Regions from separate parts of the Homo sapiens genome. Here all the other regions are linked to region 1. The links are contacts of gene promoters, found by promoter capture Hi-C in blood cells and fetal thymus (Javierre and others, 2016). All regions are on one chromosome and are shown on one strand. The core of a region is centred on a gene start or on the middle of the fragment in contact, and the rest is flanking DNA. Distances in the headings are between cores, read along the strand shown.

Region 1 (4,167 bases), core at 1,606-4,105:
TAAACAATTACACATACAAACACTTTAGAAAACTGCTAGTATCTACTAAAGCTGAATATATGCATTCTCTATGGCCCTGCAATTCCATTCCCAGATGCGTTCTACAAAAAAGCAAAAATATGTTCTCTAAAAAACATCTATTTATAATAGCCTCAAACTATTAATAGAAATAATCCAATTTTCCATCCAGAGTAGAAAGGGCCAGGTGTGGTGGCTCACACCTGTAATCCCAGCAGATCACTTCAGCTCAGGAGTTTGAGACAAGCCTGGACAACATGGAGAAATCTCATTGCTACAAAAAAATACCAAAGTAGCCGGACATGGTGGCATGTGCCTGTAGTCCCAGCTACTCAGAAGGCTGAGGTTGGAGGATGGCTTGAGTCCAGGAGGTGGAGCCTGCAGTGCGCTGAGACTACACTGCCGCACTCCAGCCTGGGTGACAGAGCCAGACCCTGTCTCTTAAAAAAACAAACAAAAAAGAAGGTAGAAAAGACTTTGGCATACTCACACCATGCGATACTATAGAGGAGACAGGGCAGTAGTTTTGAGCAGGGAAATTCTGTCCTCAGCCTCCCTACCCCTACCCACACACAAAAGACATCTAGCAATGCTTGGAGACATTTTTGATTGTCACAACTAGGGGATGGGGGGCTGGAGGGGGCTGACCTGTCATCTAGTGGGTAGAGGCCAGGGATACTGCTGAACATCTTAAAATGCACAGAACAACCCCCAACAACAATTATCTAGCTCAAATCGGCAATGGTGCTGCTATTGACAAACCCTGTTATAGAGCAATGAAAATTCAACTACATTCAAATATGTAGGTAAATCTCAAAAGCTTAAAGTTCAGTGAAAAAAAGATACAAAATTACATAGTGTGTAATTCCATTTACAGAAAACTGAAAAAGCAGCAAAAGTAATCTATGGTGTTGAAGTCATAACGGTGGTCATCCTGGTATTTTTGAGCATATGCGGAGGCGACAGTGACTGAGAGGGAACATAAAGCAATCTTCCTGGATGCTTGTAGTGTTTTCTTTTTTGAGTGCTTGTTACCACCCAGATGTACTCATCATGGGAGAATTCACTGCATCAAACCTAGGTGTCTTAAATCTGTCATATTACAAAATACAAATGACACTTTAATAAAACTCAACAGGGCTGAACTTTCTGCATGTCTTCTTCACACACTTAAAAAAATCTCAACTACATTCTGAACATTATTAATGTATCGTACAATGTCATAATTTTGATTTCCTATATCAAGGGAAACACCGTCATAACCTTTGTTTTAAAAACATGTGAACTCTACACTCTGCCCCCACTCCTTTACAAACAAAGGCTCATTAAGAGACGTTAAAAAAATATCCCTTCAGCTATGAATTAATGCCTTTCTGGTTTCACCAACACTGAGGAACGCACCCCAATTCTTGGCTGTGTTCTCAAGCCCTAAATAAATGCAGTGAAGAGAACCCCCTGCGGCTCTAACAAGATTACGTGGCCCGACCAGGATGACACCCCCCATTCCCTCGAGGATCAAGGTGCCAGCCATCTTGCTTACCTTACTTATGGGGATTCGCCTTCCCTCTGCGATGGTCTTCTTATTATTTAAATAAGCAGGATAGATACAAATAAACCTGCCATAGACAATAGCATAAGTGGTATCACTAGAGCAGTAAGAGGCAGGAGAAAAGGGTCGGGTGGCAGGGAACCAAAGGCCAATTCATGCTGCCTAGATATCAGATGGGTACTCCCTTTTCAACCCCTCCTTTTTCTGCGTGGCAGTTGAAAAATCAAAGTACCTCGGAGTGGTCCCCTCGAGCAACTAATCAGACTGGCCGCGGGCCTACTCCTCTTTCTGATTGATCCCCCTCCCTCAACCAATCAGACTGGCACAGGTCAATGGGAAACGTCTAGAGGGTATTTAAACCCTAGAAAATTCTGTAACCAACAGCTCTTGGGTAGCTTGCTGGAGCCGGCTCCCACCCTGTGGAGTGTACTTTTGTTTAAAATAAATCTGCTTTCGCTGCCTTGCTTTGTGTGTTTTGTTCAATTCCTTATTCAAAACGCCAAGAACCTGGACAACTACACTCAACAGATAACAAGTATTTTCAAAAATACATTCTTTCGGTCCGTGGTAGTCGTCATCATTGCTGGTACACCTATGCTATTATTTGCTTAATGTTATTTCTTTAAATTACCTCACTTTAACTTATTTAAAAATAAACTTTATCCACTACCTTGGATGGAAAAAAACCACAGGAATAGAAACAAAACGACTTGGGTAACTGTTACATTAGACAGAGCAGCCCGTCAAAAGTTCCTGAGAATGGGCCCGCCCTCTTATATAAAGTGTCCGAGGTATTAAAAACCTTAAAATTTCACAAATGAGCCTTTCTGAACGCAACAATACTTAAAAAGAACACATTTCTCACACTGTGATTATATTACTTGATATCATGTCCACGTAGCACCCAAAATCCTTGTCTCGCGTACAGATAAACACTAGGCTACCTATGGTCGGAATTTCAGGAGCCCTGAGAAGAGCCTGGTGGCTGCTGCAGGATTCAGAAAAACGAGCTGCCAGGGAGAGGCGCGGGGCCCGTACAGAGCGAGTTGGATCAGCTAGGCCATTCTGGAGGCCGCGGAGCGGAGAAGCGCGGTGTAGCACCTGCAGCACCACAGCAAGCCCCTTCCTTTCGGAGGACCCACCGCCTCAGAACCCACCTGTCCTGGTCGGCCGGGGACCGCGCGGCAGCGCAAGCCATCTTCACAAGAGTCTCAACAACCCAGGAGCCGCAGGGAGAAACCCGGCAGAAACCCGGGAGGAACCCGGCTCTGAGTTTCCGAGACAGCCCGCTTTTCCGCCGGAAGTCCTGCCCAAGAAATGGTTCCGCGTCCGCGATTTCTCATCGCCTGTTTGTTCCGGCACCTGTCGCTCGGCGCCAGGATCTCTAGTCTCTGACGTGGCATGAAGACTTCCCTTCTCGCGAGAGAATCATGAAAGCTTCTCATTCCTTTCCCAAGCCGGGAAGACCATGTGGGGCGCATGCACCGCCACTAAAAAGGGTTTAACTTCGACCCTCCCTCGTTTCCAGTTTCTCAGCGAGTATGGGTGGTACTAGCTACTCTCTGTTAAGGGGCGAAGACTGTGCCACGAGGGGAATCTGTGTGGTTCAGGATGCAAATATATGTTAGACAGGGAAGGAAATACTCCTTACGTTTAATTTTTCTCCGTTCCTGGGCTCTAGAGCTTGCTTTCAGTTTGGCAAAATGGATTTTTGTAGTGGTAGAACTAGCAAAGTTATAGACGTTGTGTTTCAGTGTGCTCTGCGTTAGAAACTTAGCTATTCACCTTTTAGGCCGGGTGCGGTGGCTCACGCCTGTATCCCAGCACTTTGGGAGACTGAGGCAGGTGGATCATGAGGTCAGGAGTTGGAGAGCAGCCTGGCCAACATGCTGAAACCCCGTCTGTACTAAAAATACAAAAATTAGCCGAGTGTGGTGGCACACGCCTGTAATCCCAGCTACTCGGAGGCTGAGACAGGAGAATCACTTGAACCCAGGAGGTGGAGGTTGCAGTGAGCTGAGATCACACCACTGCACTCCAGCCTGCGTAACAGAGCAAGACTCCGTCTAGGAAAAACGAAACAAAACTATTCACCTTTTAAAACTTCTGAAGGATACCATGTGCCATCACTACAGGCATACTTCATTATTGCACTTCACTTGCTGCTGCGAGTAGATACTGCCTTTTTACAAATGGAAGGTTTTTGGCAAATCCGCCTGAAAGAAGTTGCTTGGTGCCATTTTTCCAGCAGCGTATACTTTGTGTCACATTTGGTAATTTTTGCAATATTTCAAACCTTTTCATTATTTCTGTTATGGTGATCGGTGATCAGTGATGTTTGCTGTTACTATTGTAATAGTTTTAAGGCCGGGTGCGGTGGCTCACGCCTGTAATCCCAGCACTTTGGGAGGCCGAGGCAGGTGGATCACGAGGTCAGGAGATAGACACCATCTTGGCCAACATGGTGAAACCCCATCTCTACTAAAATATAAAAAATAAGCCAGGCATGGTGGCACAGGCCTTTAGTCCCAGCTACTCGGGAGGCAGGGGAATCTCTTGAACCCAGGAGGTGGAGGTTGCAGTGAGCCAAGATCACACCA
Region 2 (4,188 bases), core at 253-2,752, 2.4 Mb before region 1:
TCGAAGTATTATGGCAGCATCTATGTGCTAGTATTTTAACTTCATGATTAAGTCTAATGTATCATCTAAGGCTCTCTCTTCACTGACATGGTTATCAATTTTATTTGTGTTCTTATTTCTTAATGTAGATGCTTATTTATAATTTTAGATGCAATATGATGTAGTCATAGGCCCATCTGGTATCTAGGCAGGAATGTAGTCCATTGTTTAAGACACTTGTTTAAGACACTTGGTAAAGGATGGGGTTGCACCAGAAAGGGTCAGGACAAGGGATCCAAAGTTTGGGAATCTAGTCAACTCTCATAAATTAGTGTTTTCAGTATATTTCTTATATCAGTATGACTAAGTTCTTTTTTCCACTGTCCAGACTATAGACTGTTTTTCATTCTTTTTTTTTTTTTTTTTTTTTGAGATGGAGTTTTGCTATTGTTGCCCAGGCTGGAGTGCAATGGCACGATCTCGGCTCACTGCAACCTCAGCTCACTGTAACCTCCACCTACTGGGTTCAAGTGAGTCTCCTGCCTCAGCCTCCCTAGTAGCTGGGATTACAGGTGCCCACCACCACGCCTAGCTGACTTTTTGTATTTTTAGTAGAGATGGAGTTTCATCATGTTGGCCAGGCTGGTCTCGAGTTCCTGACCTCAGTTGATCCACCCGCTTTGACCTCCCAAAGTGCTGGGATTGCAGGAGTGAGCCACTGCGCCCATCCTTCTTGTTGTTCTTATTTAATCTTTGGGGTATGCGTGTCTTAAGCCTGGAATATTTGACATCTTTTGGAGACACTTAGGTTAACCCTCTTGTCTGTGAATTGATTCTTTGGTAAAGCAACTTGATTGGGGGTTGGGGGATGTTACTTTTTCATCCTTGTAAGATAAACTTCTTATACATATTGTTCAGAGTGAGAGAAGAGGGGTGAACAGAAAGATATTGTTTGCTTATTTACACTTCTCAGGCTGCAGATTCAGATTGAGTTCTAGGGAAAAGAAGAAACAGAATAAACAGATATTCTCTGAAAGAAGTAAAAAAGTAAAAATAACTTCATTGGCTTGATTTTAGGTGCGTGTGTTCGCACAATTACCCCTCTATACACCTGTGCTGAGTCAGGTTGCCCAGCAGTTTATTCCCAAGTAGAAGTCATCTAGGAACCATAAAACCCTACATTATACTATTTCTCTGGGAGGCCCACAGCCCAAAATTCCTTTGTGTTTTTTGTGGCTTGTTTTAATTCTCTCTCTTTCAGTTTTAGGACTACTTGAGAATTCTGATGTGATTGGAAGAGGAATGGTTTCCCAGACTATTTTAAAGGAGGCCAGATATTTGCCCCAAAGTGACTTATTGGTTCTGTCTGCCAAGCATTTCTGATGGGACCTCTTTTTATAAACATAAGCCATTCACCATAACTCTGTTACTCTCATAAACCTTATGGTCTCACCCTAAGTCTTCACCTATGAGTTGAAAATGCTGGACTTTCAGGAGCCCTTAATAATTAAGTATGCAAGATTTTAAAATACCATCACATGGCTGATTTCTTGTATTTGGCACTTACATGTAGAGTGCATTCATATCCAGGAGCAAGTAACATGACAAACAGATCATTCAGATAACGTATACAGATAAGAGTATGACCTTAAAGCAGGTTTTCTCAACCTCAGCACTATTAACATTTTAGGCCAGATAATTCTTGGTTGTATGGACCTGTCCTGTGCATTGTAGACATTTAGCAGCAGCCGTGGCTTTTACCCACTTGATGCCAGTAACTCCCTCCTCCACTGTGACAACCAAGAATGTTTGATTATGATATATTATGTTAGGGTCAGTGTTCCCAGTAGAGAACCACTGTTCTCAAACAGTGCTTCTGAAACCTGCCTGCACATTAAAATTACCTGGGAAGTTAAATACAAAAACAAACCGAAAGGGCCCAGACCCCACCTTACACCCATAGATTTGATTGTGAAGTAGGACCTTGATCTCTATGTTATGTTGGTGGTGTTTTGGTCGTTTGTTTTTAAGCAGATTCTAATGAGCAGTTTTTAAGCAGATTCTAATGAGAAGCACCCCTGTGGAGAATACCACTTTGGGACTTAGACTTCTTGAGTAGTTTTGATTGTCTAGTGTTGAAATTTCAAGTAAATTACTTGAATTTTTTGGGCTTTATATTCTTCAGTTAGAAAATCAAAGAGATGGACTAGATCATTTCTAAATTTCTTAATTTTGAAAAAAATGCCAACTTGTTTTTATAGCCTTTTGCATAAATTCTCTTACTACATAGCTTTTACTGACAGGAAGATCTTTGTTTTATCCATTGTCTGACCTCAAGTCCTTCATGTTTTCCTCCACTTTTGTCTCTGTCTTCTTTTTGCCCTTTTCCTTAATAACGCTTTAATAAACTGTATTAGTAGATGCTTAATTGTACCTGACTATAAATATAATCATTTACTTTATGTATTATATCAAAACCAAAAAACCCTGTTAGAGCTCTCCGGGAGGGTTAGATGTAGTATTGCAGGTCCTTTATTAGTTCAGTAAATATTTGAGTGCATACAAACAAAGTGGACCTTCTCTCATGAGACATAATTACCACCAAGGGCAGTGATTTTCACACTTTGTTGCTATTATGTAGAGGTTTTTCCCATGTCTAAAGGTTTATTGTGTTTGGAGAAGCACATTCCTCTGGGGAAAATGGTTACAACCAAGAGTCTATAGAAAAGGCCTGTAGTGTTATAGACTGTGATTAGATCCTAAAGTCGTTGTTACTCTTGTCCCTCCAAATCATGGCAAAGACCAAGGATAATGGCTTCCATTTATTGCGTGCTTATTGTGAGTAGGTAAGCACAATTACTGTATAAGGTATAGTAATGATTAAAATAATTATTGGAAGCTGATTAGAAAAGTTTAGGTATCCTGCCCAGAGTCATGTGGTCAGTCTAGTGAAATTGGCCAACTTGAAATTTGACTGCAGAGTCTGAGCTTTGAACTACTGTACAACACTGCTTCCCACATAAAGGAGTTCCACTGCCCTTAATATAATCCTGATCTTACCTAGATAAATTACCTCTCTAATTCAAATAGATCTCAGTGTGTTGTTAGGATTAAATTGAGATAATATATGAGAAATGTCCCAGCTCAGTGTCTAATACATGGTAATAGTCTCTCAATAGGATGTTTCCCAAATATTTATTTCTGAAGTGCACCCAAATCTCTGTAGTTTTAGTTTTTGCCCTTAAGCTTTGGTTGGAATTAAATTACTTTCTGATATCTCCTCCTGTTATCTAATGGATGCTGCTAGTCTTTTTCCACCAGGGATCAGAGCGATAATTTGCCCTTAAAAAAAAAAAAAAGAGAAGAAATCACTATTTTCTCATCTCTCCTAAAGTTGGTACAGATTGAGCATCCCTAATCCAAAAATCTGAGAGACTCCAAAATCAGAAACGGTTTGAGCACTGACATGAAGCCACAAGTGAAAAATTCCACACATAAGTGCTTAACACTAACTTTGTTTCATGCACAAAATTGTTAAACTATTATATAAAATAAGCTTCGTGTGTAAGATGTATATGAAATTTAAATGAATTTCATATTTAGATTTGGGTCCTGTCCCAGTGGGGTATCATCTCATGTATATGCAAATATTCTAAAATCAAAAAAAAATCTGAAATCTGAAACAGTTCTGGTCCCAAGCATTTCAGATAAGGGATACTCAACCTGTAGTACTATTCTAGATAATAGTACTCTAGATGCACAGGAGAGAAGTAAATTTATTACATACAGTGGATACCTCAGGACATTAAGGCTTAACTATTTCTTAGAATCTTCATTGAAAAGATTACAGAATACATCAGGTAGCTCTGCTGTAAAATTTTAGACCAGATAATTTGAAGTGTTAATTTATTACTATTAGTCATATGAATTGTTAGATTATGGAAATGATGTAACAGTACTCAATCAAGCTATACTAGAGACTGCTTCTCAACATGAAAGGAATTATATATAACAAATTCTTTGTGTTCAAAGCCATCGGTAAGATACTGATTTTTATATGAAAGCACAGGTTTAGATTTCTGATTTATAGTGTACAGTTTCAGAGGGGGAAGGTTTTGCTCTATAGTTTTTCATTCTGCCAAAGAATGCTCCTCTCTGGGAAAATAGAGTGTAAGTACATTTGTATTTTTTTAAATGTTTTATATTTCT
Region 3 (3,982 bases), core at 1,434-3,933, 2.8 Mb before region 1:
TATTATATAGAGGAAGTATCACTATGTTTCCCGGGCTGGTCTTGAATGCCTGGGCTCAAGCAATCTTCCCACCTCAGCCTCCTAAAGTGCTAGGATTACAGGCGTGAGCCACCATGCTCAGCTGGGCCTCAGAATCGTAAAAATTAAAGATTAAATAAAAATTTTCAAATTAAAAAATGTCCAATAAAGGTTATTGAGATCTGAGATATTTAAAAATATTTGATAATTCATTTAAAATAAACAATAAACCCATTACATATTGCATTAGTTTCCTGAGGATCCCGTCACAAATTACTACAAATGTGATGGCTTGAAACAACAGAAATTTTTTCTCTCAGAGCTGGAGAGTCAAGAAGTCTGCAAGTAAGGTATTGCCAAGGTTGATACCTTCTGGAAGCTCTGAAGGAGAAGGTGTTCCAAGCCATTCTCCTAGTTTCCCATAGCGATGGGCAATCCTTGGTGTTCCTTGACTTGTGAACATATCATTCATTCCAATCTGTATCTTTGTCTTCAGTATGCCATTCCCCTCCCCCAACCCTGCCCCTGTATCTTTGTGTCTGTGCATCTCAAATCTTCCCTCCTCTTATAAGGTGTGTTAGTCCATGTTCATACTGCTATGAAGAAATACCCAAGACAGGGTAATTTACAAAGAATAAGTTAAATGAATTGATAGTTCCACATGGCTGGGGAGGCCTCACAATCATGGTGGAGGGTGAAGGCACAGCAAAAGCACGTCTTACATGGCAGCAGGCAAGAGAGCGTGTTCAGGGGAACTGCCCTTTATAAAACCATGAGATCTCATGTAGCTAACTACCTGTTATAAAACATGAACAATGTTTATAAACATGAATAATGCATTATACGTGCATTATATGTTTATAAACACAAATAATGCATTATAAACACAATACTGCTTTATGGGAAACATAAATGAATGGGAAGAACCCGCCCCCATGATTCAGTTACCTCCCACCAGGTCCCTCCCATGACACATGGGGATTATGGGAACTACAATAAAACCATCAGATCTCATGAGACTTATTCACTATCACCAGAACAGCATGGGAAAAATCTGCCTCCATGATTCAATTACCTCCCACCGGGTCCCTTCCGTGACATGTGGGGATTATGGGAACTACAATTCAAGATGATATTTGGGTGGAGACACAGCCAAACCATACCATAAGGATAACAGTCTTTAGATTTAGGGCCCACCCTAAGTCCCAGGATGACCTCATCTTGAGGGCCTTAACTTAATTACATCTGCAAAAGCCCTATTTCCAAATAAAATCATATTCACAGGGGTGGAGGGGTTGAAACTTGGACATGTATTTTTTAGGGGGACACAATTCAACTCACTGCACACATTTACATAAATAACACATCTTTTAATAAAAATATTTTCGAAATAAAAATTTAGCAAGAAGAGTGACCTTATTTTTGTAAATCTTTCATATCTAGATTTAAGGAAGAAGCTGGGTGCTCATTTCCTTTGATATTCAATCTGTTATGCTGTTTTGGTTGAAATATATAATGAAAATCCAGCTTCATACAGATCATTACATACCCTCTGAAAGGGTTTCAGGAGGCTTCTGGGGACTTCAGAGCAACACTTGAGAACCACTGCTCTAAAGCATATACTCCATAAATATATGTAAAATGGAATTTCCAGGCTGTGGCTACATATTCCAGGCTATATATATATATATATATATACATATATACACACACACACACACACACTGTATATAGGTGTGTGTGTTCTGTGTGTGTATACATATATTCTACTTTATTAGATAATGGCACATTGTTTTCCAACTTGATTAACCAATTTACTTTTTCACTAGCAGTGTATAAGAGGTTTTGTGGCTCTATAAGTCGACCAATATCTGTTATTGTTACACTTAAAATTTTTGCCTATCTTGTGGTATGTAATGTATTGATTGCACTGTGACGTTTAATTTAACAAAAGTTCATCTAGTGCTTGCTATGTACCAACCACTTCTAGGTACTTTTTCCAAATATTGGTACTTTGTAATAATTCTCTATGGTAGGTGCTATTATCTCCATTCTACAGATACACACTGAGGCAGAGAATTTAAGCAAGTGGCCGGACGTCACACAGCCAGTACGTGGCAAAGCAGGGATTAAGCACTCCTGCAGTCTGCTCTTAGAATTCGCGCTCCTTGCCCAGCTGCTTCCCCCAAATATTTATTATTACTTATGAGAAAACTCCGCAAATTGCAAAGCGCTCTACCACCAACGATTAGCACCCTAGGGCAAAATGAGCCCTTTACCACTCCCTAGATGCTCCCCAGCGCTAAGTTCCCAGCGGAGGTTGCAGTGAGCGCAGATCGCGCCACTGCACTCCAGCCTGGGTGACAGGGCGAGACTCTTGTCTCAAAAAAAAAAAAAAAAAAACAACAAAAAAAGCCAGTGATTGGAGCGTAATTACCCTCGCCAACCGCCTGTAACCACGGCGGCCGCCACGCCCCGTTTCCTGGTCTCGCCCCTCTCCGCCCACGACTCTGGCCCCGCCCCTCGTCCCAGGCTGCAACGGAGGCAGAGCCAACGCCTCGCGGGCTTCCACGTACGCACTCCAACGCGTGTTCCCGGAGAAGAACGCATCCGGGTCACGGGAGCCGGTGTCTCAGGCTCCGCCCCTTCACCCCCCGAAAGGCTAATCCCCACTTCCGACCCTCTCAGGCCTTTTCCGCTTCTCTTTTACCTCCCCAGGTCCGCCCGTCTGCGCCCCTCACAGGAAGCCGGAGGGTCGCTCTGATCCCGAATCTCCCACAGGCGTGAACCTGCTCTGCTGTGTATCTTTGCGGGGTGGCCTGCGCTGAGGCCTGCCGCGCGCGGTGAGTCCGCGCAGACCTGACCCTGCGTCTCGCAGCTCGGTTGAGGCCGCCGCCGCCTTCTCGGGATGCCGCGGCCGGGGTCCGCGCAGCGCTGGGCGGCCGTCGCGGGCCGTTGGGGGTGCAGGCTGCTCGCACTGCTGCTACTGGTGCCTGGACCCGGCGGCGCCTCTGAGATCACCTTCGAGCTTCCTGACAACGCCAAGCAGTGCTTCTACGAGGACATCGCTCAGGGCACCAAGTGCACCCTGGAGTTCCAGGTATCAGGGGCCTAGCAGTCCCTGGGCCCCAACTCGCGGCTCCAGGATTGGGGGTGTAACTTGAGGGATGGCACTTTCCTGTCCGTGTTTCCCCGTTCTTAGGCTAATTCAAAAATCGCTTCTAGGTAGCTGATGCCCAGCATTTGACTTTCCTCTAATAAACCTTGGGTGAGAGATGTTAAGACCGGGTGTTAAAATATATGAATTCCAGAAATGCTCCCTTTAGCATTTCTTTCCATCTCATTTTTAAGGCCTATTGAACTTTCTTCCTTAAAAGATTCCCTTAAAGAAAATCATTTATACTCTGTAGTACCCAGTGTCAACCCTCTACTCTCTAATCCACACCTCCAATTTAATTGGATTTGGAGTGCTGCCAATGTCTAACTTCATTGCTTTTCAGTTTTACCAATATTAGGACTGTTGGTTAATACGGTCCTTGTCATTGGAAGAGCTCCATTACAGGTTGAACGGCCATTTGCCAAGGGAGTTGTAGAAAGAATTGCTGTGATAAATGAGAGGCCCCTTCTGATATTTGGGATTATATAAAAAAGAAACTTTAACAGAATGTGGTTTATTCGGTTGGTTAGAACAGTCTTTACTGAGCTTCAATTTTGGTTGGTAGGCGCATTTAACATTTGAGTAGCTATTGAATACTAGGTGCCAGTGGTACAGAAGTGGTCGAAACAGATAGGGTCACTGCCATCATTCATGATTCCCCTCTCACCCTGCTTTTCTTAACTGGTATCTGCTCATTCATCAGAACTGTGCCTTAAGAGCAGTAAGTAGGATCCATGAAGGAAGACTTCCTTTGGAAAATTATTTTAAGCTGAACTTTAAAGGATGAGCTATAAACACCTTGGTAAG
Region 4 (3,757 bases), core at 1,104-3,603, 2.3 Mb before region 1:
GTATATAACTAGGAGTGGAATTGCTGAGTCATATGGTAATTCTAAGTTCTAAGAATTCTAAGAGCATTCCAATTTCTCCACTTTGTCATTAATACTTGTTATTCTCTCTGTTTTTGATTCTAGCCATTCTAGTGAGTATGAGGTAGTATCTTATTGTGGTTTTGATTTGCATTTTCCTAATGACTAATAACGTCAAGCATCTTTTCATGTGCTTATTCAGCTGCCTATTTTCATAAATAAATGTTTATTGAAACATGTCCACATTCATTTGTGTACCTATTTGTGGACCTATTGTCAATGGTCCCTTTCATCCTGTAACAGCAGAGTTGAGCAGTGATATAGTTTGGATATATGTCCCCTCCAAATTTACTGTTAAAATTTGATCCCCAATGTTGGAGGTGGGGTCCAGTGGGAGCTATTCTGGTAATGGAGGTGGATCCTTCATGAGTATCTTGGTGCTGTCCTCGTGGTAATGAGTTAAGTTCTTGTTCTATTAGTTCTCATGAGAACGGATTGTTAAAATGAGCATGACACCCCCCCCCTCCTTTCTTTCTTGCTCCCTCTTGCCATGTGACATGCCAGCTTCCCTTCACCTTCTGCCATAAGTGGAATCTTCTTGAAGCCTTACTGGAAGCATATGCTGGCACCATGCTTCCTGTAAAGTCTGCAGAACCATGAACCAAATAAACCTCTTTTCCTTATAAATTATCCAGTCCCAGGCTAATCTTTTGTAGCAACACGTACTAAGCCAAGTAGTAACAGAAATTATATGGCTTCAAGTCTAAAATGTTCATTAATATCTTACCCTTTAAGAAAAAGTTGCTGACTTCCACATTAGACTATTAAAAAGCCTGAATATATTTAAAAACATTAAAATCATTCAAAGGATGATCTTTGCTCAAAACAGAATTGGATTAGAAATCAACACACAGAAAAATAGAAAATCTAAACTATTTGGAAATTTGAAATAATTTGGAAATTAACACATTTGTAAATAACCCATGGGTCAAAAAAATCACAATAGGAAATTTTAAAAATATTTCTAACTTAATTTTAAAAAAATCAAAAGTCATGGAATGTAGCCAAACCAATCAGTACTTAATGGTGAAAGAATGAATGCTTTTTCCCCAAGATTGGGAATAAGGCAAGGATGCCCACACTTGCTGCATGCATTCAATGGAGGTTCTACTGGAGGTTCTAACCAGAGTAATAAGGCAGAAAAATAAAGGCATACAGATTGGAAAGGAAGAAATAAAATTGTCTTTAATTACAGATGATATTATAAGGAATCTGAAAATAAAATCTGGAATTGATAAGTGAATTTTGCCCCATTGTAAAACACAACCTTATGCAAAAATCAGTTGTGTTTCTATATAACAGTAATTAACAATCCAAGAAATGACACCAAGAAATCAATTTTATTCACAATAATATTAAAAGGAGTACCTTGCAATATGTAATACAATAAGTACAATATCTGAACATTAAAAGTGATAGAACATTGCTTGGAAAAATTAAAGAAAATCTCAATAAATGAATATTCCAATATTGTAAAACCAGATTATGAGATGGTTTTACAAATCCATAATTTAATAAAAATAACTAAGCAGTACACTGACAATTAGTGAATTTTATGGTATATAAATTGTACCTCAATAAAGCTTATTCAAAAAAGATTTTTTTTTTAAAATGACCTTTTTGAATACAGGTATCAGTCAAATTTTAGGTTTACATTTTTGAAATAAAAACTAAGAAAATGTGAGAGTTTATTAAAAGTAAGATATTTTAGGTTTCTTCAGTCTCTAACTCTTAAAAAGCTGAACATTCTTCACAGATTTTAAATTCAAAACCTTCAAAAATACAATTTGTGTGTCACCATTAAAAAGAAAACTTGGATTGTGTATTTTGTTGATGTTATTTGTTCAAGCTATTATGTATTATGCTGGTTGCCATCAGAAGGAGAAAATAGAATGTTGTAAATCTCTATGTAATACTTATTTCAATAATTGGCATAGCAATAGAGCAGTTGAAGAATTTTCTCCATTTGATGAAAGTTGGCAATTAGCAGATTTTCCACAGCAAGGGACCCTTTAATATTGCTGGTCTTCTCAGTGTGAAAAATTCACACATCATATAATCCCTCTATTAAATATCTTCCTCTTAGGTGGGGAAGTCCCCTGTGAAGCAGCATCTGTCATGTTAATTTCATTCTTATTTTTAGAGAAATATGAATTAACATTTTTCTTAATTTTGGTTCTTTTAGGGAGTGAAGTTTTAAATTTATATGATTTTAATCTTTTTTTCAGAAGAAAGGGACATAATAAAGCAACTTTTATTTGGTACCTATTGACAGTTTGACCCTGTGTCTTTGAAGTGAGTGCATGCATAGAATTTCAGAAGAAATTTCAATGTGGTCTTCATTTTTATATGCCTATCTTCTTTGAAAGGTCTTTAATGCTCCAGAGTGTTCTTCACACAACGACAATAAAGAGTGGTAAATACCACCAGGCATTGGTGTAAATAAATGCTCAGGACCCAACTTATGTTCTCTAAAACTCTTGCCTCCACCACTTTCTTGGTCTTGGGTAGGAATCTAGGCAACTGATAAGGATATTTTGTCTGGAGTATTTTCTAGTAGCAAGTGATCAGGTGGACAGCCCTTTTTTAAGAGCGATCTTTTCAGGGAGGAGAATGGCAGCTAATGCGGCCAGATGGCAAAGGGATCCTCAGATCAGAGATTTTAGGGTTAAGAACAGGAAGGGGTTAGAGACCATTTAGTCAACACCAGTCATTTTATAGAAGAGAAAACTGAAGCTCTGAAAGTTGAATGGACTTACTCAAGGTTAATAGAAACTAACAACTTTCTACCCGATATCTGTCTCCTCTTCTTCCTTACTAACAAATCCTTGATTTTGTTTAGAGTGGCAATGTTCCCAGAACAAAATAATCACCTCCCCAGCCTTCCTTGGAGCTAGGGGATGCATATTACCCATTTCTCACAAAGGTGTAAGTGGAGGTCACTGGATGGGGCTGGGGGAAGCTTTTTAAGGGGAAACAAATGTCTTGTGTGCTCTTGTCTCTACCTTCCTCCTTCCTGCTTGTAATGCAGACATAAGATTAGCTGTTCAGCTCTAACACTGTGGTTTTTAATCAGGTGCCAGAATCCATTCTGGGTGTGAAAAAATGTTCACTTTTAGAGCAATATCTCTTTCTGGTAATCCATCAAGTGTTGCTAATAGTAGGCAAGAACCCATTTATGGATGCTACAGACCTTAGTTGAATTCTACTAGTTTTCCTATGGACGCAAAGAGTATACATGAAGTTCTACAGAACTTAAGAGGGACAAGAAGCTTCTAGCTGTATATCCAAGAAGCATTATGATTGTGTCTTGCCTCCTACAGAGCCCTAATTGTGAACATCAGCATGTTAACTTTTGCTGCTTGTTCTAAGAGGTTTTCAGCACCAGCTCATAAAGTAAAGTAACACACCGAAGAAGCAAAGTTCTGGTAGAACAACAGTTACAGAGCAACACTGTTGGAGCTTTACGGAGAGGTGTGCTGAAAAAAGAAAGAAATGTGTATGCTTCTGGATTTCTGGACCAAAGTGGAGAAATTAGAAAATGACAAAAGGAAGAGGCAAAAAAGAAAAACCCCCACGTCTCATTAAGCCTGCAAAACTCTTTTACACCTGTAAAATAGGTCATTTCGACACACCACCCTGCCCACTGGTGCTGAGCGCAACGCAAACTCTGCCAACT
Region 5 (3,984 bases), core at 278-2,777, 3.0 Mb before region 1:
AAGGCATTAAAATGTGACAGCAATCACATCCTACTTCTCTCCTTTGAGCTATGAGAAATATTTATCTATTGAAACTGCTTTATACTGCCACAAGTAACTAGAAAATAACCTAATAATGCTGCACCACACACTATAAACTACTCCCTGCATCTCAACAATGTTAGTCAATCATTAACCAAAGTTATTTCTATAAACTAGTGAGAATTCCTGACAGACAACTTAGTATCAGCCCACTCCATGTCCCCTTTATTTAATGCCTTCACAAACCTGCTTGTAACAATGGCCAAAGGGAGCTCATATCCAAGGATACTTGAGTCTGAGTCTCCCAGGCAACTGTTCTCATTTTGGCTCAAGTAAACTCTTTGAATCCTATTTTGTGCTTCAGCCTCTTCCTTTTAGGTCGATGGTATGTACACACATACAATGAAATATTATTCCGCCTTAAAAATTACGGAAATTTTGATACATGCTACATAACATGAGTGAACTTCGAAGACGTGCTAAAAGAAAAGCCAGTTTCCAAAACACAAAAATTCTATGATTCCTCCTATATGAGGTTTTTAGAGCAGTCAAATTCATAGAGACACAAAGTAGAATGGTGTTTGCCAGGTACTAGGAGAAGGGGAGAATAGGAAGTTAGTGTTTAATGTGTAAGAAGTTTCTGTTGGGAAAGACTAAGTTCTACAGATGGATGGGTGGTGATGGTGACACAACAATGTGAATATACTTCATGCCACAAAACTGTACACTTGCAACTGTTAAAATGATAAATTTTGTTATATATTTTTTACTACAATAAAATTTATTTTATAACCCTTTCATGTCACACTAAGATATATTAATGACAGGAAATAGGATATGTATGCGGTAGAATCAACTAGTACTCTTCCTCAGTAAGCACAAGGTAATCAAAACAATTCAGTGGGTCTGGAATATTAAAAGATAGCCCTTTCCTCCTGAGTAACAAAGAGAACTGTGACTGACAGCAAGTGATTCTTGTAATTACACCAGGCTTGCAAGAGTGGAAAAATGTAAATGCTTTTCAGTACAATAGAGGTGGGTCTAGTGGGCTTCACATAAACTCTATTCACATATAATTAAGACAATAAGCTAAGAAAAAAATGGTTTTCTTCTTGAGTTCTGTTACTTCACAGGTGACTTACGAAAGCTTGATCACAGGTCTCATTGATAGAGAGGCTATACAGAACTGGAGCACTCATGTTTTTTGTTTCCTTTGTTTTTGTTTTTTTTTTAGAAGACAGGGGCCCTGCTATGGTTGCCTAGCATAGCCTCAACTCCTGGGCTCAGGCAATCCTCCCACCTTACCCTCCCAAGTAGCTGGGACTATAGGCACACACCATGCCTGGTTTTGATGCACTGACTTTTACCTTCATTCACTGGCCTAGCAACACCTTCTTTACAGAGCCTAACAATAACTGGGTAGAGAAGAAAGTAACCAATCAGAGGAGAGCCTCACTGCCCCTTCTGCAGAGGCACTGTTTAAATGGCAAAATGCAAGTGTGATTCAAAGAGGAGTATCTCCTCTTGTGGAGAACATGCTGGGCATGATGTCATCAAACTGAATTATGTCAAGAAGGGGCATGGTGTGGCATACAGGCATGATCTGTCCCCATCGTTCTCTTTAGCTTTATCTCCTGCCTCTCTTCCCCGTGATTTCTCAGCTTGCCTTCTTGCTATTCCTGAACACATCAAGTGTGGTCCCATTTGAGGGACACTGCACTTCTTTCTGCCTGAAACATTCTTTTCTTTACTGTTTTCATATTCTTCCTCTCTTATCTCATTCAGTTTTCCTCTCAAATGTCAGGTCGTCAAAGAGGTATTCCCAATGACCCTATCTAATATAGGCTTTCCTCCATCAAGCTTTATTCCCTTATACTGTTTCATTTGTCTTCAGACTAATTACAATCTTAAATAATTTACTGCCTATCTCCTATCACCAGAATGTAAACCCACAGGGCAAGGGTGACATCCGTCTTACTTATCACTGTATTACTAGTGCTTAGAATAGGGCCATACAAACAACAAATAAATACTTGAAAGAATATGGACAGGAAAAGAGAAAGAGTGTAATGGAGAGACAGATCAGAAAGTATCCAGAAAGACCACCCCTCTTCCCAGAGGCCTATCTCTAGAAGGCCTAGTCAGAGGCCTAACTCTACAAGGGCTTCCTCCACTTGGAATCTTAAGAAAACAGTTATTAGCTAGAATTGTCCTTTATTCACTTCAATATCCTTCTAAGAGTTGCTTGATTCTTCAGCAAAGAAAGCTGTTTTAACTATATTGTACTTCAAAGGATTTGATGAGAGGAAAGCTGAAAAGGCAGATGGGTGAGGAAAAAATGTGTTTAGTTAGCCTAATGTGACAGTTTTATACAACAAGAAGTTGGAAGGGGACTGGGCCCTCTAGATGGTAACAACTCAGAATCACCTTGAATTATAAAACAGCAGTGACAAAATCCATAATCCACAGGTACAAAAAAGACTAAGTGCTAAAGGTAAGAATGAACTCTTGACTTTCAAACAAAAATTAGCAAAGATTTCCTTTCAGAACGAAAAAGACAAGGACACTGATAACCTCAGGTTACACAGGTAAGTTTAATTTTATACAAAAGAAAGATATATACACATTTCTTAGGACATGCAAATTATTAATGTGCTATTACCATATACTGTCTTTTTTAAATTTTAACAAGAGAGTGGCTGAACATTAACATATTCAGTTATCTTAAAGCCACAATGTTTAATAAATCCATCATCAGCTTCAAAGCATTTATTTGTGTTATTAATGTCTAAAAGGTATATCCTATTCACTGGGACATTCTGAAAAGAAAAATAAAGACCGGGGGGAAATACACTAAGTGTTAATAATTATCTGTGTGTGGTAAAATCAAGAATGACCTTAGTGGCCTTAATATTTAATTTTCCACAGTCACAAAAAAAGAAACTTACTTAAAATTGAAAACAACTTTGCTAAAGAATATAATATAGGTACGTCACGTAAGGCCTTCTTTTAGAAAAGCCATGAAATGACCTATAACATTGTCCTATTTATAACACTTACCTCATAACCAAAAATCATTTTAACTTTGAAGACTTTATTTCCTCCTTTACAATTAAATATTCAAAAGGTTTAGTCTTAATTTTTAAAAAGCAAGTTTTCCAGCATACTCCACATAAAAACTGTGAACGTATAAGCATTTGGGTTTTTCGAGGATACTTTGATATAAGGAAAACCTGAAATTAAGATCTATTGTGACACAGGTTCAGTATTGCATATTACAAGGAACTATTCCTGATATTAACAACCTCAGAAGCAATCTAAAATTTCAGAAAACTAATATATATTAAAAGCTAATAAAGAGGGAATAGTGGTGATAGACATGTTAGTTAGCTTGATTTACCCATTTCACAATATATACATATACAAAAATAACATGTACACGGTAAATATATGTAATTTTTTTTTGTCATCTATACCTCAATAAAAACATATATTTTTTTAAATTTGTTGAGACAGGGTCTCCTCTGTCACCCAGGCTGGAGCGCAATGGCGCAATCTCAGCTCATTGCAGCCTTGATCTCCGGAGCTCAGTGATCCTCTCACCTCAGCCACCTAAGCAGCTAAGACTATAGGTGTGTGCTAACATGACTCACTAATTTTTGTATTTTTGGCATAGAGACAGGGTTTTGCCACGTTGCCCAGGCTTGTCTTGAACTCCTGGGCTCAAACAATCCTCCCATCTAGGCCTCCCAACGTGCTGGGATTACAGGCATGAGCCACTGTACCCGGCCATAAAAATAAATATTTTTTTAAAAGTTTAGAAGAAGAAATAGCAGACCCTTGTTTGCCTACCCACCATCCACTCCTTTCTTTCATCTTTCCAACAGAATATCCATTTTATTCCCGTTTTCACTCTCATCTTCAGCTCCAATCCAAAGTTGGATGTTGATTAGGGTAAGAATA
Region 6 (3,612 bases), core at 957-3,456, 2.4 Mb before region 1:
AGTCAGGTATCTTAAATTTGATGGAAAATTAAGGGTTAATATGGATTGTCTTCTTATTCAAACTTTATTTTTAAAATTTTAGATATGAAGAGCTAATTAAAGAAGAGAAGACAACTAATAATGAGTTGAGTGCCATATCAAGAAAAATTGACACATGGGCTTTGGGTAATTCAGAAACAGAGAAAGCTTTCAGAGCAATCTCAAGCAAAGTTCCTGTAGACAAAGTAACACCAAGTACTCTTCCAGAAGAGGTACTAGATTTTGAAAAATTCCTTCAGCAAACAGGAGGGCGACAAGGTGCCTGGGATGATTATGATCACCAGAACTTTGTAAAGGTGAGAAACAAACATAAAGGGAAGCCAACATTTATGGAAGAAGTTCTAGAACACCTTCCTGGAAAAACACAAGATGAAGTTCAACAGCATGAAAAATGGTATCAAAAGTTTCTGGCTCTAGAAGAAAGAAAAAAAGAGGTAATAATTATAATAGCTATTATTCATTCTGTGTTTCTATGTTCTAGGCACTGTACTAAACACTTAACATGTCTCATTAACTTTACAGCAATCCCATGAAGTGTGTTTATAGTTCCCCGCCCCCGACAATCTAATAGAAGATGAAACTGAGGCATTGAAAGTTAAGTAATTTTAGCCAGGCACAGTGGCTTACACCTGTAATCCCAGCACTCTGGGAGGTTAAGGCGGATGGATCACTTGAGCTCAGGAGTTTGAGACCAGCCTGGGCAACATGGCAAAACCCTGTCTCTACAAAAAATACAGAAAAATTAGCTGGGCATGGTGCCACGCACCTGTGGTCCCAGCTACTTGGGAAGCTGAGGTGGGAGGATTGCTTGAGCCTAGAAGGTTGAGGCTACAGTGATCTGTGATTGCACCACTGCACTCTAGCCTGAGCGAGACCTAGTCTCAAGAAAAAATAAAAATAAAAAAAGGAAGTTAAGTAATTTTACCCAATTAATAGAACAACATTTGGACTTCCTCATAGCCAAACATGTCTCTGTCACAAATAACATAATGGGACAAAAAGCCTCTGATTATGGGTCCAGTCCTCCGTATCCACTTCTCAGAAATGTGAGCAATCCAGATCCACTGAGACTTTTGAAAAAAGTCATCTTACGAGCAAAGGCCACATTGTTTTGAATAGAAAAATCAAGAGGCAGTAGAAAAAATGCTTTGACTAGTAAACATTTCTTTGAGATTTTTAAACTTCAACCATATTGCTTATTTTAAAGACTCAAAATGTTAGCTACCCCAGAAAAAAAAATAACGCCTGATTGTGGCAGATACCTAAAAAGGTCCATTTTTACAAAAATATTACTCTGGCTTTGCATTAGATCAGGATTTCTTAACCTTGATACTATTGACATTTGGAGCTAGATAATTCTTTGTTGTGGGGGCCTGTTCTGTGCATTATAGGATGGCATCCCTGGTTTCCAGCGGGTAGATGCTTATAATGTCTCCTTAATTATGATTATCAAAAATGCCTCTAGCCAGTTGTCCACTGGAGGGGAAAAATAGCCCCTAGTTGAGAACCACAGTAAGTCAGAGTCTTTTTTTTCTTTTGTAGAGTTCAGTGATGACGAAGTTTGACTTACCTGGTTTAACAAAAAGGTTGTGTTTATTCCATAGATGGTATACCCAAGGAATATTAAAGAAATAATTGAGTCCATGTTTAGTCTAAAGTTTTAGAGGGAATAGCTGCATTTTTGTTGTTCTTGTCATTCTCCTCCCTCCCCCCAGCAATAAATTGAATGTAGGGAAATTGACTTCTCGGGTTTTAAGAAAAATGTTTGAAACATAAGTCATTTGGGCTTTTTTCCCCAGAATGCTGAAAACATGGGATTCTCAAAGTGGTCCCTAGACCAGCAAAATCAGCATCACCTGGGACCTTATTAGAACTTAGCGGGCTCCAACTCCAGACCTAATTAGCACTGTGAGGGTAAGGCCCAACAATCTGTGCTTTACCAAGTCCTCTAGTTTATTCTGCTAATGAAAACCACCTCTTTAGGAAAAAGAAACAGACACACTGCTTCTTGTGATAAAAGTAAACCATTCAGATTCTAGCTTATTTTCCTTGTTCCCATCTGCTCTATTTCCTGATATTTGATGACTGATATATCATCAGTTTGATACGATATGAGCAGGACATAGGGGTGAGATAGAAGGGTTTGTGAAAGTGGAGGTGCCATTTACTGAAGTAGGGCATGTTGGAGGAGGAAAGGGAAGTTTGGAGGAAAATATCAGGAGTTCAGTTTTAAATCTACGGAGTTTTAAGATGTTGAGTAGTAAATTTACCATTTTTATCTCCCACTTCCTTTAATATGTCTTGTGTTTTTAATAAGTGAAGATATTATTCTGACATTTTCAGACATGCTCTGAACTTTCTGGCCTGAATGCCTTTGCTTATCTTGTTCTCACTTTCTGGAACCTCCATTCTTTCTTTCCCCCTCCAATCCCAGCTTATCAAAATTGGCCCAGATCAGATGTTGCCTCCTCCTTGCCCACCCAAACATAAGTAGCTTCCCTCAGGATTTCACTGACACTTAACACCTTTTATATGATGTGTTGTGGTATGCCCATGTTGAATTTCACCTAGAACAGTGCTGCTCAGACTTGGTCCATGGACTAAATATGGGTTTGCAAACTGTTACTGGTTTACAGTGGGATAAAATAGTTGCACCAGAATTAACTATGCAGTGAGCACTGTTTAGTTCAATTGACTTTTTTTTTTCCATAGAAAATTTTCACATTGAAAGAAGCAGTGCATTGATTTGCGTTTTAACACAAATTCCCAATATTTTTGCAGACTGGTATTTTGAGTAGCACTGTACTAGGTGGCATTTGGTATAGTTTTAATATTGTTTCATTGTTCCTATCACATTGCCTTGTTTATAGTATATATACATACCATAAAGATTTATTGAGTGGAATGAATGATACACCATAAAGAAAGATGAGGAAATAGTTTCTTGACTTGGAGGGAAGGTAATTCAGTGAATATGCCCTAAATGGCATGGAGAAGCCTGCTAGAATTTGAAATAATTTTTACATACCCATATGTAAAGACAGCTCTGTAGCTATTGAGCTGTTTTATTTATTTATTTATACATACTTCGGAAGCACTATGTGCCAGACGCTAACTCATTTAATCTTCATAACAACACTGTGCAAGAAATCCTACCTACCATTTTATAGATGAGCAAAATGAGGACAGAGAAGTTTAGTGGCTCATCCAATGCCACACCTAGTAAATGGCACTGCCAGGATTTGGTCCCAAATAGTCTGACTTCAGTGCTCATGTTCTTAACCACCCTACTCTTAATTCTTCTTCTGATATTTGACCAGATAAAGATCACTCAGAAAGTATTCTAAGCCTAGAAAGAGAATTTGGAAGCAGAAATGAGATGATCAGAGGAAAGGGATGTTGCCCATGAAAATAAAAGGAGCAGATAGGCCTGGCACGGTGGCTCACACCTGTAATCTCAGCACTTTGGGAGGCCAAGGTGGGTGGATCACCTGAGGTCAGGAGTTCAAGACCAGCCTGGCCAACATGATGAAACCCTATACTAAAAATACAAAAAAATTAGCCAGACATGGT
Region 7 (4,022 bases), core at 842-3,341, 2.7 Mb before region 1:
TATTGTTTTTGCTTTACAAAGAAGCCAATATTTTTGTTTTTCTTCTTTGTTATATTTTCTCTATTTTGTTGATTTCAGCTTTTTCTTTTCTATGTTAATATGTCATATTATTGTAGTGGATGGTTAGCTCTTCAAATTTTCAACTTTCTATTCTGATTTACATATTTAAAGCTATAGATTTCCATGATAATGCTACTTTATCTCTTGCGTTAGTTTTCTATGCTGGGTAACAAATTACCACAGGTTTACTGGTTTATAACAGCATAATTTTATTATCTCACAATTTCTTGGGGTTAAGAGTTTCAGCATGGCTTAACTGGGTCCTCTGTTTAGGGTCTCACAAGGCTGCAGTGAAGTCAGCTGAACTGCATTGTCATCTGGAGCTCACAGTTCTCTTCTAAATTAATCAGATTGTTGATAAAACTTAGTTCCTTGAAGCTGTAGAACTGAGGTCCTCAGCTACTTAGGGCTGCTCTTTTATATAAGCAGTGTAACGTGACATGCCTTTTTAAGGTCAGCAGAACTTCTGACTAGAATCTGTTTCAGAGAAGGCCAGAAAGAGTTCACTTGGTTAGGTCAGAGTCACCTGGGATAGTCTCCCTTTTGATTAAGTCAGAGTCAACTAAATAGGCACCTTAATTGCATCTGCAAAATCCTTTCACTTTTGCCATATTCTCTTACTAAATGTAACAGGCGTTGTCCACACAAAGGTATGGATATGGGGCTTGGAAAGGATTTCAGGAACCATCTTAGAATTCTGCCTACTACTAACTCCATTCTACAAGTCTCAATATCTAGCATTTTAGTTATTCACTAACTGCAAAGTTTTTTATTTCATTATCATTACTACTTTGATCCATAGATACTATTTGGAACTATAATTTCCAAACATGAATATTTAAGTTTTCCTTTATTGTTGATTTTTAACATAATTGAATTGTGATCAGATGATATATTCTCTATATGATTTAAATTCTTTGAAATGTGTTAACAGTTGCTTTATGACATAATAAGTGGCTGGTTTTTATAAATTTTAGGATGCTTGAAAAGAGTTCTACAGTTATTTATGTTCATTAATCATTTTAGTCATGTTCATTAATTTTCAAGTCTTCAGTATCCTTAGTGATGATTTTTTTGTTTTTGGTATATATCTCTTGATTACTAAGAGAATTGTGTTAAAATGTAGCTAGCATGATTTTAGATGTGTTTGTGTGATTCTTTCAATTTCTCTCTTTTTCTATTTTGTATTGGGATACAAATGTATAATTGTTATATTTTCCAGGTTAATTGAAAGAAGCTTTATCATTACAAAATTATCTTTATTTCCACTAATAAATTTTGCCTTAAAATTAATTTTATTTGATATTAATGTAGCTATACCAGCTTTCGTTTGGCTAGCACTTGTGTCGTATATCATTTTCCACAGTTTTACTTTCAGTCTTTGTGTATATTTAGTTTTTAGAGGTGTCTCGTTTATATCATATTGTTGTTACTATTAGTATGTGTCCTATCTGTTCTATGTTCCTTTTTTTCTACTTTTTTTTTGATAGTTTTGTTTTTGTTACTCCTTTTTTTCTTCTACCTATCAGATGGGATGTTGTATATATTTCTGTTCATGGTTGTTCTAGAAATTTCATTATGCATCTCTGACTTATCAACGCCTAAACTCGCCCAGACTTCTGCGCAGTGCAGTAGCCTTAGAACACTTTAATCCCATTTACTTTCCTCCCAGCTTATATATGTGGTTGTCACATATGTTGTATCTCTTTAAATGTAAGTTATTACTGTTGTTTTATATAGTTAATATTGACTTAGATTTACCCACAAATTTGCCACCTTTCTTACTCTCCATTCCTTGCTGTGTCTTTGAGCTTCCATCTGGAGTAATTTTTCTTTTGCCTGAGTATATGTTTAGAATTTACTTTAGTGCAGGTCACCTGGTGGCACATTTACTTTGCTCTTGTTTTTTGAAATGTCGTTATTTTGCCTTCTTTTTGAAGGACTTTTTTTTTCTCCCTTGAAATGGATGGTTATCTGGAAAGGTAAAGATAACTTTCCCTTGTATTCTGACTTCCACTGTTACTGGGAAGAAGTCACCTGTCAGTCTTTTGCTCCATTTAGACTAATCCATTTTTTTTTCCTCTGGCTGCTTTCACGATTTTCTCTTTGTAATTATAATTTTTTTTTTTTGAGTTTCATTGTGTTGTATATACGTGAGGATTTTATTGTATTTTCCCACTTAGGCTTTGTTTGGCATCTTAGATCTGTGGGTTGATACATCAGTTCTGGAAAATTCTCAACCATCATTGATTTGTTCAAATTTTGTTTAGAATCTTACATCTATATCCATGAGCGATGTTGGTCTTTAGTTTTCTGTTTTTGTAATGTCTTTTGTCTGATTAGTATGATACTAATGCTGGCTTAATAGAATGATTTCAGAAGTATTCCCTCCTTTTGAATTTTTTTGAAGAGTATGTGTAGGATTGGTATCATTTCTTCCTTAAATGTTTTGGTAGAGTTCACCATTGAAGTCACCTGGACATGAAGTTTTCTTTTTCGGAACATTTTTCACTACACCTTAATTTCTTTGATAGATTTAGGGCTTTTAAAATAATCTGTTTCATCTTGACTGTTTGGCTTTTAAGGATTTTTTCCATTTCATATAAATTGTTGAATTTGCTGGCATAAAGTTGTTCATAATCTTTCCTTAGTAACCTTTTAATAACTGGAATGTCATGTCCCTCTCTCATTTCTAATATTGGTAATTTGCATCTGCTCTCTTTTTTCTTGACTTATCTGGCTAGAAGTTTATTGATTTTGAACGTCCTAGTAAACCATCTTTTGGTTTTATTTCTGGGGGAATAAAGTACCATAATCAAGCTTAGTAATCCTTCTTCTTACCTTCCTCCAGGATTTTGACTAGATGGGATTCTTTGTCTAATGAAGTGACCTAAACCTTCATTTCTACAGAATTGAGCCGTTGATAGGCCTGTCTTTACTGGGTTGCTGCAGTTTTCCACTGACTAGGACTGTTAGCACTAAGAGGCATTCCAGTGAATTTCCTCGTTTCCATATATAGCCTATATAGCCTTCTTGTTTCCATTGTAAAACAGAAACACAGTTTTCCTCTGATAACTGGAATTAGCTACCCTGGCCAGTCCATTGAGCTGCTTTTCTGTTACTTTAATGGCATGAGGAACCTCAAAAGGCCAGGGCCAGTCTCGGCTCCTAAATCATCAAAACATGATTATTTTTCCTGAAGGAAGTGTTCTACTCTTGGACTCTAGAATTTCTAAACCCACCAAGCCCAACATTTTGGGAATGGGAAGCAAAAATTATTCACGTAGATTCTTAGGTATACTATTGAACAGAAACACTCCTTCTACCCTTTGGCTCTGAGACCTGTGCATCCTGATAGTGGGGAGACAGCTCCATATATTGACTGCTTATTAAATTAATGTACCACATTCTATAGGACACCACCCTACCTTTTCATGATGTTGCCTCCCAGATATCTCTGTAACCGAGCTCTCATTTTGCCACTCAGCTGTTCTATCAAGCTAGTTACTTTAGGAGATAAGCATGTGTTAAAACCATTGAATTCACTTCCATTGCCATAAACTGTGTACCTGGTTGGAAGAAATGTTTTTGGGATTCCTATGCAATGGATAAAACCTTCAGAAATGTCAAGAATATTAGTGCCAGTGGAAACACTGCAGGCAGAGAATGCAGATTTATACCTTGAATGTGAATTATCTTTGTGAAGACAAAGTGCTACCTATTTCTTATGGAAATTGCCCAATGTAACCATCATGTTACCGGGTTGCCAGCAAGTCTCATTGACAGTAATGCCATATTAGGAACCCAGCCTTGGAAATGTAGTCACACTCCACGTTGTTGCCAGGTTGGGCATTCGGCAATGATAGTAGCCAAATAATGTAGGTAAGGAGAAGACCATACTATTGAACCTCTGTCACTGCTTTGATAGCCACTTGGTACATGGGCCCATTAACCAAGCCCTG

The links. The method cuts DNA at HindIII sites, captures the fragments that hold promoters and counts their contacts. A CHiCAGO score of 5 or more calls a contact.
Region 2: a fragment that was not itself captured here is called in contact with the fragment with the promoter of SRP19 in region 1 in 1 of 17 cell types (total CD4 T cells); the score reaches 7.4 in total CD4 T cells.
Region 3: the fragment with the promoter of TMED7 here is called in contact with the fragment with the promoter of SRP19 in region 1 in 7 of 17 cell types (total CD4 T cells, naive CD4 T cells, non-activated CD4 T cells and 4 more); the score reaches 13.3 in total CD4 T cells.
Region 4: a contact is called between a fragment that was not itself captured here and the fragment with the promoter of SRP19 in region 1, in 1 of 17 cell types (fetal thymus). The highest score is 5.4, in fetal thymus.
Region 5: a contact is called between a fragment that was not itself captured here and the fragment with the promoter of SRP19 in region 1, in 2 of 17 cell types (fetal thymus and activated CD4 T cells). The highest score is 9.3, in fetal thymus.
Region 6: a contact is called between a fragment that was not itself captured here and the fragment with the promoter of SRP19 in region 1, in 1 of 17 cell types (M0 macrophages). The highest score is 7.1, in M0 macrophages.
Region 7: a contact is called between a fragment that was not itself captured here and the fragment with the promoter of SRP19 in region 1, in 7 of 17 cell types (total CD4 T cells, total B cells, naive CD8 T cells and 4 more). The highest score is 9.3, in total CD4 T cells.

The regions. Positions count from the first base shown.
Region 1 is chr5:112,859,975-112,864,141 of GRCh38, reverse strand. SRP19 (signal recognition particle 19) reads right to left here and starts at 2,855. Exons shown (of 5, transcript NM_003135.3): 1 at 2,725-2,855; 2 at 1,559-1,634. The coding sequence starts at 2,765. RefSeq lists enhancers at 2,558-2,857, 2,958-3,037, 2,796-3,090. The HindIII fragment of the contact is 2,166 bases long and covers 841-3,006 here.
Region 2 is chr5:115,253,752-115,257,939 of GRCh38, reverse strand. The region is part of intron 1 of PGGT1B (protein geranylgeranyltransferase type I subunit beta); the gene reads left to right. Among named protein-coding and RNA genes, the nearest start is that of PGGT1B, 7.0 kb to the left of the region's middle. The HindIII fragment of the contact is 3,451 bases long and covers 1-3,227 here.
Region 3 is chr5:115,624,737-115,628,718 of GRCh38, reverse strand. It overlaps TMED7 (transmembrane p24 trafficking protein 7), which reads left to right and starts at 2,683. Exons shown (of 3, transcript NM_181836.6): 1 at 2,683-3,118. The coding sequence starts at 2,927. It overlaps TMED7-TICAM2 (TMED7-TICAM2 readthrough), which reads left to right and starts at 2,683. Exons shown (of 4, transcript NM_001164469.4): 1 at 2,683-3,118. The coding sequence starts at 2,927. RefSeq lists an enhancer at 2,618-2,787 and a silencer at 2,958-3,027. The HindIII fragment of the contact is 9,571 bases long and covers 1-3,982 here.
Region 4 is chr5:115,181,273-115,185,029 of GRCh38, reverse strand. No RefSeq gene overlaps it. Among named protein-coding and RNA genes, the nearest start is that of TRIM36, 13 kb to the right of the region's middle. The HindIII fragment of the contact is 1,379 bases long and covers 1,664-3,042 here.
Region 5 is chr5:115,847,164-115,851,147 of GRCh38, reverse strand. All of the region lies in intron 1 of AP3S1 (adaptor related protein complex 3 subunit sigma 1), which reads right to left. Among named protein-coding and RNA genes, the nearest start is that of AP3S1, 7.2 kb to the right of the region's middle. The HindIII fragment of the contact is 713 bases long and covers 1,171-1,883 here.
Region 6 is chr5:115,272,077-115,275,688 of GRCh38, reverse strand. CCDC112 (coiled-coil domain containing 112) reads left to right here. Exons shown (of 10, transcript NM_001040440.3): 6 at 83-473. Among named protein-coding and RNA genes, the nearest start is that of PGGT1B, 11 kb to the right of the region's middle. The HindIII fragment of the contact is 4,036 bases long and covers 189-3,612 here.
Region 7 is chr5:115,604,647-115,608,668 of GRCh38, reverse strand. All of the region lies in intron 3 of TMED7-TICAM2 (TMED7-TICAM2 readthrough), which reads left to right. The region is part of intron 2 of TICAM2-AS1 (TICAM2 antisense RNA 1); the gene reads right to left. Among named protein-coding and RNA genes, the nearest start is that of TICAM2, 4.2 kb to the right of the region's middle. The HindIII fragment of the contact is 1,583 bases long and covers 1,300-2,882 here.